Regions from separate parts of the Homo sapiens genome. Here regions 1 and 2 are each linked to region 3. The links are contacts of gene promoters, found by promoter capture Hi-C in blood cells and fetal thymus (Javierre and others, 2016). All regions are on one chromosome and are shown on one strand. Each heading gives the region's core, a stretch centred on a gene start or on the middle of the fragment in contact. The rest is flanking DNA. Distances are from core to core; before and after follow the strand shown. Region 1 overlaps USP37 (ubiquitin specific peptidase 37). Region 2 overlaps USP37 (ubiquitin specific peptidase 37). Region 3 holds the start of CXCR2 (C-X-C motif chemokine receptor 2).

Evidence for each region. The method cuts DNA at HindIII sites, captures the fragments that hold promoters and counts their contacts. A CHiCAGO score of 5 or more calls a contact.
Region 1: a contact is called between a fragment that was not itself captured here and the fragment with the promoter of CXCR2 in region 3, in 1 of 17 cell types (neutrophils). The highest score is 5.5, in neutrophils.
Region 2: a fragment that was not itself captured here is called in contact with the fragment with the promoter of CXCR2 in region 3 in 1 of 17 cell types (neutrophils); the score reaches 5.1 in neutrophils.

What each region holds. Positions count from the first base shown.
Region 1 is chr2:218,473,855-218,478,052 of GRCh38, reverse strand. It overlaps USP37 (ubiquitin specific peptidase 37), which reads left to right. Exons shown (of 26, transcript NM_020935.3): 19 at 1,072-1,213; 20 at 3,168-3,423. Among named protein-coding and RNA genes, the nearest start is that of VIL1, 57 kb to the right of the region's middle. The HindIII fragment of the contact is 1,846 bases long and covers 1,910-3,755 here.
Region 2 is chr2:218,454,950-218,459,259 of GRCh38, reverse strand. USP37 (ubiquitin specific peptidase 37) reads left to right here. Exons shown (of 26, transcript NM_020935.3): 24 at 2,099-2,168; 25 at 3,542-3,680; 26 at 4,243-4,310. Among named protein-coding and RNA genes, the nearest start is that of VIL1, 38 kb to the right of the region's middle. The HindIII fragment of the contact is 1,496 bases long and covers 511-2,006 here.
Region 3 is chr2:218,124,096-218,128,298 of GRCh38, reverse strand. CXCR2 (C-X-C motif chemokine receptor 2) reads right to left here and starts at 2,271. Exons shown (of 3, transcript NM_001557.4): 1 at 1,946-2,271. The HindIII fragment of the contact is 2,247 bases long and covers 1,837-4,083 here.

The sequences.
Region 1 (4,198 bases), core at 1,583-4,082, 350 kb before region 3:
CATTTTATATATATTTTTTGTATTGCATATGAATTTGTGTTAACCTCCATCAAAGAAAGTTCTTGTTCTTTGACCTTTACCACTTTTTTCTTTAGTTTATTTTCGGCTTACCTAGAAGACAACACAGTAACACCTTACTTATCTGGCATCATTAAAGGATTCCACATAAGTGAATTTTTATATAACTGAAGCTTACCTTTTAACGATTTATCTTTTAAAAGATTTTTAACAGTTTGGATGAAAATGTTTCTAAAATATGTTACACTGTTCCTTACATTCTTAAAATAACTAAGGATAATTTAAGTATATCTTAATGACTTAGAATCAGCATTTTAAGTATCAATTATTGCACTGTGTTTCAATATGATATTGCCCTCAGAGGCTCTTAATTATTACAAGATAGTTTGCTTTTACATTAAATGACTTTATAGTTCTTGTTTGCCTTTCTTGTGGTTATTCTTTCTCATTTCTTAGCTCTCATTTCTTGATGAACTTGATACACTATTTTATTCACCATTTCCTGGGAAAGAAAGGGTCCCTCTAAGTACATGGGCTTTGGAACTGCCTTCCTCAGAAGCCTTTTTTCTTACTTTGGAATCCCTATGTTCTGGAAAGTAGAGGTTGCCAGAAGTCTGACCTACAGATAAGTGGATAAGTGGAATGTTACTGTTATTTTTAAAGTGCATGGATCATAATTTAAAAGATCACAAATTAGTCTTCATGCACTTTGTTGTCAAAAACATTTATTCATTGCTATGCCTGCATGAATTCAATAGCATAATTTATAAAGACAATAGCAAATTTCATTGGGGTTGATCATTAAAAGAAAAAAGGCACAACATGATTAGTTTACTGATGATACGTAGTAGCATAAGAGTTGTCCAGTTTTCAAAGCATGGCTCTTTTGGAGTGGGGCAAAGGTAATGCTGAAATATACCTCTTTTGATATATCTTTTTTTTCTGTTAAGTAATTTTCCGTAATGGAAAAGCAATTTGTTTTGATATTTTTACAATAAAAGAATAACAAAGACAAATGTTTATCAGGCTTTTTTTTTTTTCCTTAAATTACAGGAAATTCACCTTCAAATCCAAGAGCTCCTTGGCTTTATGCCTTGATTCAGACAGTGAGGATGAGCTAAAACGTTCTGTGGCCCTCAGCCAGAGACTTTGTGAAATGTTAGGCAACGAACAGCAGCAGGAAGACCTGGAAAAAGTAAGTAATATTTTCTTAAAACATCTGACAAAGATTTGTTTATCTCTTACTGTCCAAACAAATGTCTTTCATAACCATCATCAAACTAATTAGTTTTAAAGAAAATGCCTTCTCTGGCTACAGAAATCAGTCTGTTTACAGATGGATCAAGACTTACGAGAAATTCGTTGTTCTAAACAAATTACTTTCTTTTTTTGCCCTTCAAAGCTACTTTTGCATATTCGTCCTCAAATAATTACTTGCTTTATTTTGGTAGCAGTTTTTTAAGACAGGGTATCGCTCTGTTGCCCAGGCTGGAGTACAGTGGTGTAATCACGGCTCACCACAGCATCGTTCTCCTGGGCTCAAACAATCCTCCTACCTCAGCTCCCCAAGTAGCTGGGACTACAGGCATGTACCACCATGCCTGGCTAGTTTTTAAAATTTTTTGTAGAGACAAGGTCTTACTGTGTGACCTAGGCAGGTCTAAAATTCCTGGGCTCAGGTGATCCTACCACCTCAGCTTCCCTAAGTGCTGGGATTACAGGCATGAGCCACTACTCCCAGCCTGTAGCAATTGTTTATGTGAGGGAACTGTAGTAAACATTTTACATCAACAGAGCAACCAAGTAATCTAATTGTTTAAATTATGGATTTATTAATTGGATTAATATATAGATAATTATATGGATAGTTAATACTTTGAAGATCTAAGCTTTTCTAGGTGTTTGCATTATCTTATGCTACTGTATTTTATTTTAAGCCTCCCTTTTAAATAATAGAATTATTTTAGTAGTTATTTTTGTTCTGTTTCCTATCTTACTTTAAAGCCAGAGGTAGTTTGTGGTTGTTCAACTTGAATGAGAAATGTGTGAAAGTCCAAAATTCTCCCAGAAAACAACTTTTGAATATTTACATAATCTTTTTTTTTTTTTGAGACGGAGTCTCACTCTGTTGCCCAGGCTGGAGTGCAGTGGCACGATCTTGGCTCACTGCAGTCTCTATCCCCCAGGTTCAAGTGATTCTCCTGCCTCAGCCTCCTGAGTAGCTGGGATTACAGACGTACACCACAACATCTCCCTAATTTTTGGGTTTTGGTTTTTTATTTAATTTATTTATTTATTTATTTTTGAGACAGACTCTTGCCCTGTCACCCAGGCTGGAGTGCAGTGGTGTGATCTTAGCTTGCTGCATCCTCCACCTCCCAGGTTCAGGCGATTCTCTGTCTCCCTAGTAGCTGGGACTACAGGTGCGTGCCACCATGCCTGGCTAATTTTTTTGTATTTTTAGTAGAGATGGAGTTTATCCATGTTGGCCAGGCTGATCTCGAACTCCTGGCCTCAAGTGATCTGCTGGCCTCGACCTCCCAAAGTGCTGGGATTACAGGCATGAGCCACCACGCCCAGCCTAATTTTTGTATTTTTAGTAAAGACGGGTTTTCGCCATGTTGGCCAGGCTGGTCTCAAACTCCTGACCTCAGGTGATCCACCGCTGGGATTACAGGCGTGAGCCACCTCGCCCAGCCTTCTTTACATAATCTTGATGTCGTGTTTATTTTTCTCATTTATTGTTAATAAGATCAGCTAACATTTATAATGGTGTAGTAGGCATAATGATAGAATATTTACTGTATAATCTATATATATCTGGAAGAAAATAAATTGAAAATACTTAGAGTAATTATCTCTGAGTAATCTATTTTGAATGAATTTATTTTATTATTTTTATGTATTCTCCAAATTTGTACAAAATATATACTTATTTCAATCAAGAAAAAATAATGTATTCTTATGTATTTATTATTTTTAAAGTTAGACTCACCATTTAGTTTATATATTGGTTATTGATTGTTAAATAACCCAAAGCATCAAAGAAAGGAAACTTTTTAGAAATAAAGTTGCTACTTTAAATACTAATTAAGATTGCTATATTTGTAGGTATTCTGGTTTCTTCTAAAAGTAACTCTCTTCTTCAGGATTCAAAATTATGCCCAATAGAGCCTGACAAGTCTGAATTGGAAAACTCAGGATTTGACAGAATGAGCGAAGAAGAGCTTCTAGCAGCTGTCTTGGAGATAAGTAAGAGAGATGCTTCACCATCTCTGAGTCATGAAGATGATGATAAGCCAACTAGCAGCCCAGATACCGGATTTGCAGAAGATGATATTCAAGAAATGCCAGAAAATCCAGACACTATGGAAACTGAGAAGCCCAAAACAATCACAGAGCTGGGTAGGTTTAATGAAGATTAAACCTCTGTGAAACAAAACATAACTCTTTCAAAGTTTTGTAGTGACAAATAACCTCCAAATAACGGGAGATAAATAGAAAAATTAGCTGAGCATGGTGGTGTGTGACCCTAATCCCAGCTACTCGGGAGGCTGAGGCAGGAGAATTCGCTTGAACCGGGAGGCGGAGGTTGCAGTGAGCCAAGATTGCACCACTGCACTCCAGCCTGGGCGACAGAGTGAGACTCCTTCTCAGATAAAAACAAATAAAGGGAGGTGAAGTGGATCTGTATATAACAGGGTTGATGGCATTTTCATTCTGTATTATAAAAAGCTTTGAAAAATGAGAAGCAAATATTGTGACTAGTACACAGATACTAGTGGTAAAGTATGCCATATCCCTTTAGGTATACATCACTAGTAAAACTAGCCTTCTTATGTGCATTTAATATATGTTTGTGTCAGTTCTGAGGTGCTTTTCTCACCACTGCTATTTCAGAAATTCATATAATTCTTTCATTTTCCTATATCTGAATTTACACCAGGTGTTAGGGTATAAATAATTCAAGTTCTCCATTCCCTGCACAATGCATTGCTTTTTCTATGTTTAGATGTATTTAGATACACAACTACTTACCATTGTGTTACAGTTGCCTACAGTACTCAGTACAGTAACATGCTTTACAGGTTTATAGCCCAGGAGCTATGCCATGTAGCCTAGATGTATAGTCAGCTATACCATCTAGGTTTGTGTTGAATATACTCGAAGATGTTCGCAC
Region 2 (4,310 bases), core at 9-2,508, 330 kb before region 3:
ATTGTACTCCAGCCTGGGCAACAAGAGCGAAACTCCATCTCGGGGGGAAAAAATTACCTTTAGTTACACTGAATAACTGTATCATCTTTATAATTAAATACCAAAAACGGTTGTTCCTCACTGAAAACTATTGAATTGGTGATGTTAATTAGGGCACATTGAACTGTTTTTTTTTTTTTAACCCTTTTTCCCCCCTTAAATAATTGCTTTTTCTCCTCAAATTTTGATTATCCAGGATCCTACCATCCTAACACAATTACTCTCAGCACTTTGACATATTTCTTTGTTATTCTCACCTCCATGTATACTTTTTAAAAAGTCGTAAGTATAGTTTTTATTTCATTTGCTTTTTTGTTCTAGAGACAGAGTCTCACTGTGTTGCCCAGGCTGGCTTCAGACTCCTGGGCTCAAGGGATTTTCCTGCCTCAGCCTTCCAAATGGCTGGAACTAGAGGCACACACTGCCACACCCAGGTTATCCTGTTTCTTAAAGAGTAGTTATTTATAAGCTTATGTTTAATGGCTGTACTATATTGCCTCAAATAAATATCCTACTTATTTAACTTTTAGCTAACATTGAGTATTTGTCTAAGTTGTTTTTAATTTTTCACTATGATAATAAGTTGGGAAACTGTATGCTTATAGCATTTTCCTTATTTTATTTTATTTTATTTTTTAATTTTTTTGAGACAGAGTCTCGCTCTGTCACCCAGGCTGGAGTGCAGTGACACGATCTCAGCTCACTGCAACTTCCTCCACTTCCTGGGCTCAAGCGATTCTTGTGCCTCAGCCACCTGAGTAGCTGGGATTGCAGGCATGAGCCACTATGCCCAGCTAATTTTTGTATTTTTAGTAGAGATGCAATTTCACCATGTTGGCTAGGCCAGTCTCAAATTCTTGGCCTTGAGGGATCCACCCATCTCTGCCTCCCAAAGTATGGGGATTACAGGCCTGAGCCACTGCACCTGGCCAAACATAGAGTTGTTTTTTTTTTTTTTTTTTTTTTTAGGCAAGGTCTGTCTGTCACCCAGGCTGGAGTGCAGTGGCGTGTGCTCTTGGCTCATGCATTTTCTATATTTTAGAATTTCTCCTTTTATATTCTCCAGAAGTAAATTACTAAATCGAAGTTTATGAACATTTTAAGTTTCTGGTTTACATATAGCCATATTCCTTCCCCCAATTTTTTTTTTCTTTTCTTTTCTTTTCTTTTTTTTTTTTTTTGAGACAGAGTCTTGCTCTGTCGCCCAGGCTGGAGTGCAGTGGCCCGATCTCAGCTCACTGCAAGCTCCACCTCCTGGATTCATGCCATTCTCCTGCCTCAGCCTCCCGAGCAGCTGGGACTACAGGCGCCCGCCAGCTAATTTTTTGTGTTTTTTTAGTAGAGACAGGGTTTCACTGTGTTAGGCAGGATGGTCTCAATCTCCTGACCTCGTGATCTGCCCACCTTGGCCTCCCAAAGTGCTGGGATTACAGGCGTGAGCCACCACGCCTGGCCTTCCTTCCCCAAATTTTACCTTATAGTGCTGTCTGCAGTGCATGAATATCACTTTTTCAGTTTTGCTTTATTTTACCAAAAATATTTTAATCATATTTTTTAAAATATAAAAGTTCACTCTGATCCCTACAGCAACATAGCAACTCTTTTTAACATTTTTGTTCTATTGTCCAATGCCTAACTCTTAACGTAACATTTTTTTAATAGAGTTATAGTTACTATGTGCATTCATATGGGTTTGGAAAAAAGGTTAACATGTTCCTGATCCATGTAGTTTTTTTATATAACTGAACATTATTATATTGAATTGATATACTAACCAGTTAGCTATTATTGGATATATTGTTGGTTCCAGCTTTTCACCAGATAATGCCACAGTAAATAATTTGATACATATACTCTTCTTTTGACTTATTTCCTTAGAATAAATTCTTAGTTGAGGGTGGAATTCTTGGGTCAAAGGGTATGAACAGATTTTTTAATTGATTCTTACTATGCCACATACCAAAGCTTAGCCATGTCAGCTTTGATAATAAATTTATATTCAGTGTTTTGCTTTTATTCAAATGAAGACTTAAAAGTTATACCCACTTCTGTTTTCCAGACAGGAAATCTGCCTCATTCGTACCGGCTCATCAGTGTTGTCAGTCACATTGGTAGCACTTCTTCTTCAGGTGAATAGCCATCATGATTTCAGCATTTTATAAATGAACTAGTCAGCATTTGCTCTTTATTATATTGCTCTTTGCCTAGCTTTGTGAAGTGTGTTTTTCTTTTTCTTTTTCTTTTTTTTTTTGAGATCCAGTCTCACTCTGTTGCCCAGGATGGAGTGTAGTGGCACAATCTCGGCTCACTGCAGCCTCCACCTCCTGGGTCCAAGTGATTCTGCTGTCTCAGCCTCCCAAGTAGCTGGGATTACAGGCATGCACCACCACGCCCAGCTAATTTTTGCATTTTTAGTAGAGATGGGGTTTCACCATATTGGCCAGGCTGGTCTTGAACTCCTGGGATCAAGAGATCCACCCACCTTGGCCTCCCAAAGTGCTGGGATTACAGACGTGAGCGACCATGCCCAGCCCACGAAGTATAAGTTTTTCAAGAAAATCTTTGAAATCTACTTTGATCACACTCAATGTGCATTGTGTTAATAGGTGTAACTGTTTTGATTTCTCAATTCATAAGTGACCTAAATTCCCCTGAACAAAATACATTAATCAAAAATGGTGTACCAGTGTAGCATATGCCTCCTTGATTCTCTGTGTATATACAAATATTTTTTTCTTCTTTTTTCTTTTTTTTTTTTTCAAGAGACAGGGTCTCACTCTGTCACCAGGCTGGAGTGCAGTGGCACCATCATTAGCTCATTGCAGCACTGAATTCCTGGGCTCAGGAGCTCAAGAGATCCTCCTCCCTCAGCCTGCTGAGTAGCTGCGACTACACGTGCATGCCACCACACCTGACTAATTTTTTTAAATTTTTTGTATGGACGGGTTCTTGCTTTGTTGCCCAAGCTGGTTTCAAACTCCTGGCCTCAAGCAGTCCTCCTGCCTTGGCCTCCCAAAGTGCTGGGATTATAGGAGTGAGCCACTGTGCCTGGCCTGTATGTTTCTTCAATGGGTTTTAGACACAGTGTTGAGGATAAGGTGAATGTGGTAGCTTTTTTTCTTTCTCAAACTTCCTGCACCTGAGATAAAATTAATGCGTTTTTGTTTATTTTTTTGAGATGGAGTCTCACTCTGTCACCCAGGCTGGAGTGCAGTGGTGCTATCTCGGTTCACTGCAACCTCCACCTCCTGGGTTCAAACAATCCTCCTGCCTCAGCCTCCTGAGTAGCTGGGACTACAGGCGCACGCCACCATGCCTGGCTAATTTTTGTATTTTTAGTAGAGACGGGGCTTCACCATGTTGGTGAGGCTGGTCTCAAACTCCTGACCTCGTGATCCGCCTGCCTCAGCCTCCCAAAGTGCTGAGATTACAGGCGTGAGCCATCGCGCCCAGCTTCGGTGTGTTTTTAAAAACCTTGATTTTAAGATGTTATTTGTTTCAGGTCATTACATTAGTGATGTATATGACATTAAGAAGCAAGCGTGGTTTACTTACAATGACCTGGAGGTATCAAAAATCCAAGAGGCTGCCGTGCAGAGTGATCGAGATCGGAGTGGCTACATCTTCTTTTATATGCACAAGTAAGAAACTTTGCCAGATTCTAAATAATGAGTTAGAAATCACCGGAACTCTTTTTTTTTTTTTTTTTTCCTTTGAGGATAAAATGTTTCCATCAGTTGATTGGTTGAAAATTTTTGGTTTTTATCATCTTTGGTTAGGGTCTATCTCTTGATATTTCCTTGTAAGTCCAGAATATTTTCTCTCATAACTCAGCATTAATTGCTCATTACACAGTTGTATCTAGGTATGGAAGTTAAGACAGTTTGTTTTATGATAGAAGATGTCCTGTCATAAATAGTTTTGGTCATCCAGTTTTATCAGCTAGAAGATCTGATTTATATGGATGGGAATTACCTAGCATGTTCATTAAAGCTAACTGTTGTCAGTTCCCCTCTATTCTTAAAAATCAGCATTCAAAGGGTTAAGATCAAATGAGTGAGCTGCTTTTTAAATAAAATACAGGCATGAAATGGAATTGTGAAGGCCTTATCCATATCAATTTTATTTTACTTTTTCTCCTGCCTATTCTTTGGTTCTGCTTACTAAATTTCCAGTTTTATTTTTTGCTTGTTTTATCTTAAGGGAGATCTTTGATGAGCTGCTGGAAACAGAAAAGAACTCTCAGTCACTTAGCACGGAAGTGGGGAAGA
Region 3 (4,203 bases), core at 1,022-3,521:
CTTTGTCACCTCTCTTTCCCAAGCTGGGGAAGAATGCAATGCCACCTGGCCAGTTGATGCTAAAACCAGATAGAGGCTTATTACATATGGAGAGAGGCAGATGACACCAGGGCTAGCTGAGCAATTCTGGGCAAGTGACTTTTCCTTTCTGAGTCTCAGTTTACTCATCTGTAAAATGGGGCCAATACAGAATCCAACTCATGGGGTTGTGGTGAGGATGAAATGAGGGATTGCTTGTAAATCACGTAAAACATACATAAAGTACAATGTTAACCTTTATTGTTGTGATCATTATTACTGGAATAGTTTATTCACTGATAACATGCTGCCTCTCTCACTACATCCCCAGTCAAGGGAAAGCAGTCGGCAGTGGGTCTGCTTTCAAGGCTGACTTTGATGACATCTAATTTACTTTGACCTGGATATTAATTGTCATATTAGCTGTAATGTTGAGTGTCTACCAGGTTCTAGCTTCTGGGCAAAGTGCTTTCCAGAATTTGTATCAATTAATCCTCAGGATAACCTCACGAAGCAGGCACTTTCTGGAAGAGGAAATGAAGACTCTGAGAGGTTAAGCAACATACCTAGAGTGACACAGCTGAACTAGGTTTTCAGTTTAAAAAACTTCTAAAAATCTGCTCTCAAATCCTATCTCCTGTTCACTGTAATAAGGAGCAGGATCCCAGCCTAAAGTTTCTGAGCTCCATTAGGTACCTCCCTGTGTCCCAGAAAGTCAGATACAAAGGATGTAGAGAGGGGAGCCCAGATTTGACATTTCCCAGTCAGCCTCCTTCTTCATGCTCCTTAGGTCAATTTCATTTCCATGGAGATCACTGCGGTTATATGCAGGGTGGAGTGAATTAAAAAACTGGCTTCTGGTGCGGTGGCTCATGCCTGTAATCCCAGCACTTTGGGAGGCTGAGGTGAGTGGATCACTCGAGGCCAGGAGTTACAGAACAGCCTGGCCAACATGGTGAAACCCCGCCTCTATTAAAAATGCAAAAATTAGCCAGGCGTGGCAGCGCACGCCTGTAATCCCAGCTACTCCAGAGGCTGAGGCATAAGAATTGCTTGAACTCGGGAGGCAGAAGTTGCAGTGAGCCGAGATTGTGCCATTGCATTCCAGCCTGGGCGACAGAGCAAAACCCTGTCTCAAACAAAAACAAAACAAAAACCTGGCTTCTAATCCTGCTTGGAGAAGTCATTCTTTCTGGGCCTTGTTGTGTGCCTTTGGAAAACGGGAGCTTCTTCTAATTCTATTCTGTTCAGCATGCTAGCTACTAGCCATGTGTAGCTATTTAAATTAAAATTAATTAAAATAAAGGCCAGGCAAGGTGGCCCATGCCTGTAATCCCAGCACTTTGGGAGGCCGAGGTGGGCGGATCGCTTGAGCCCAGGAGTTTGAGATCAGCCTGGGCAACATGACGAAACCCTGTCTTTACAAAAACAAAAACAAAACAAACAAACAAACAAAACCCAAAAAATTAGCTGAGTGTAGCGGCACATGCCTGTAGCTGCAGCTACTTGGGAGGCTGAGGTGGGAGAATCACCTAGACCTGTAGGTTGAGGTTGCAATGAGCCAAGATCATGCCACAGCACTCCAGCCTGGGCATTGGAGTGAGAGCCTGTCTCAAAAAAGAAAAAATAAAATAAAATAAAATGAAATAAAAATTGAGATCCGCAGTCACACTAGTCACATTTCAAGTGCTCCGTGGCCACGTGTGACTAGTGGCTACCATACTGGGCAGGGCAGGTCTAGGACATTTCTATTATTGCAGAAAATTCTTTTGTGCAACACTGTCTAGGTGAAGACTTAGTTGTCTTTAGCTCTAAGCTTCTACACTTCATCACCCCAGTTCTCAGGGGCCTCAGAGGAGGCTGAAGTTTCCAGATCTCTTCCATTAGAAATATGTTGCCAGCATCTCAGACTGAACAAGTCACCTACCTGCTGTTATTGGAGTGGCCACCGATGTCTTCACTGTGCCTCAAGGTTGGGTGGTAGTCAGAGCTGTTAGACAGGAAAAAAAAGATGAAACAACCTTGACGATGAAACTTCTGACCTGGGTTGCAAGGGGGAAATCCAGGATGCCCTCCTGGGGAGGTATTCCCACAGAGGAACAATGAGGTCTGTCCTGGGACTTTGGCCCAGGACAGGTGCCACTTAGTGATTCTGGGATGAGTGCTGGGGATTTTCACATCTTCCTGTCTGATGGCTTCTGGAGGAGCCTACCAGTCTGAAGGTGGAGATTTGTCTATCCACCTTCTGTCTCTGAATGTTTTGAACCTGCACTTCCTTTTTTAACAAGGAAGATGCAGGCATCCCAGCCCCCGCCAACGGACTTGTCTGAACTCGCACGCAGTTTCTTCCTTCTTTCCGGGGTCAGAGTGAGAAGCGTCCCTCCTTCTGTTTCTGTTGAATCCCCGCACCTGACTGTGGGACCCACTGCCTCTCTGGTCCTTGAGGATCCTGCTTTCTCTCCCCTCTGTCCTGGCTCTTTCCCTTCTACCACATCTTACTTATGGCTTTATCATGCTCCCTCTGTCCTAGCACCCTTCAGCCACCACAGCTGCTCTCTCCACTTCCTCACCTCCCCTCTGCTGCTCAACAAAGACACTGCAACTGGCTTCCTTCCTACTGCTCCACTGAAATAACTTTCGCCAAGGTTCCCAATGACCTCTGGGTTACTAAACCCAGCAAATCCATTAAAAAAAAAAACAAAAACAAATTGCTTTCTTTCCCCCCAAGACAACAGATTGGAGGCAGCATTAGCATGCCTCTCCCATCTGGAAGGACAGAATAGCGTGTAGAGATTCACACTATAATTTTTTTTTCTCCAGGAACGAATGCAGGAACTGAACAGGAAAGCTGAAAGAATCCACAGAACTTTTGAAAGAAGTGGCAGGCTGCAGCCTACTCTGTGAGACAGGCAAAAACTCACCTCTAGGCAGAATAGCACTGTACCCAGGAAGGAGAAAACGGCTGCATATTCTCAGCTATCACCACTGCTTACAACACCCTGGCTAACCAGAAGTCCTGCGTCTGTCCACGTGATAAGTTCACTATAATTATAACCAGCATTTGAGAAAGTCAATACTCTAAGTCTATCTACAACCAAGGAATCTTGCAGAGTTTGCATCACTCCCCTCCCACTTCTGTCAGAGATGGTGCTGGTATTCACTGCTGGGAGTCTTGAAGACAGGTAACACCACTGGATCCCTTGCAGACATTCCCTAGCACCAGCCCAGAGTCTGGTAGGCCCACTGGGTGGCTAGACCCAGAAGAGCACTGTAGTCTGGCTTCCAGGAAGTCCCATTCCTAGAGGAAGGGGAAGAACATCACATCAAGGGAATACCCTGTGGAACAAAAGAATCTGAATGGCAGGGCTTGAGTCCCAGATCTTTTCACTGGTGGGAAGTTTCCTATTGCAGAGACAATTGCTGTGCTGGGCAGAGTGGGGGAAAGTTTGCACCTCTACCCAATAGGCAGGCAGCCTCTGGTATTGTGAAGGGTCTTAGAGAAGGGATCCTTGTTCCCCCTGGTACGCCACTGCAGACAGAGCTGGGGCTTCTCCCAAAGGAACGCAGCATTGATGCACCTATAGACAGCCTTCCTGGAACAAATCAGGGTGATTGCATCCCCACGGGAGGAGCACTCCCCAGATTCAGGTTTGCATGACAGGCAGTCACAATTCCTCTCTACTTGGAACATCAACATTTCTACAGATGAAAATAACTGCCTGTCTGATCTGAATAGCTGGAACACTGGGAAAGGAGTGAAGCTGGGAGGTGGATAGCTTTCCAGCTGGCCTAGTGGGGGACCTGAGGTAGCTCCTACCCTTCACCCTGACAAAACCTCAGCACATCTAATTGAGAGCTCTCCCAGGCACTCTCATCAAGGCTGGGATCTCTGCCCACCTGCTTTAGCTACAACCGGTGCCTACCCACCTACTTTAGCTACATCTGGTGCCTACCCAGGGATACTTCCCCTACTGGTCCAAAGCCTGAATCAACTCAGTAAGTAAAATACTGGGGAAAAATTAAATAAATAAATAAAGAGTACCCCACGAGAGAATGAGGTAAGCTTAAAGAGATTCCTGCCATTCCAACCCTGTAGGAGACAGTAAACCTTCCCACACACCAAGTACGTAACTGCTACAACCAGGATCTGGGAAAGCCAGCACACAAGGACTGTCTCTAACTAAC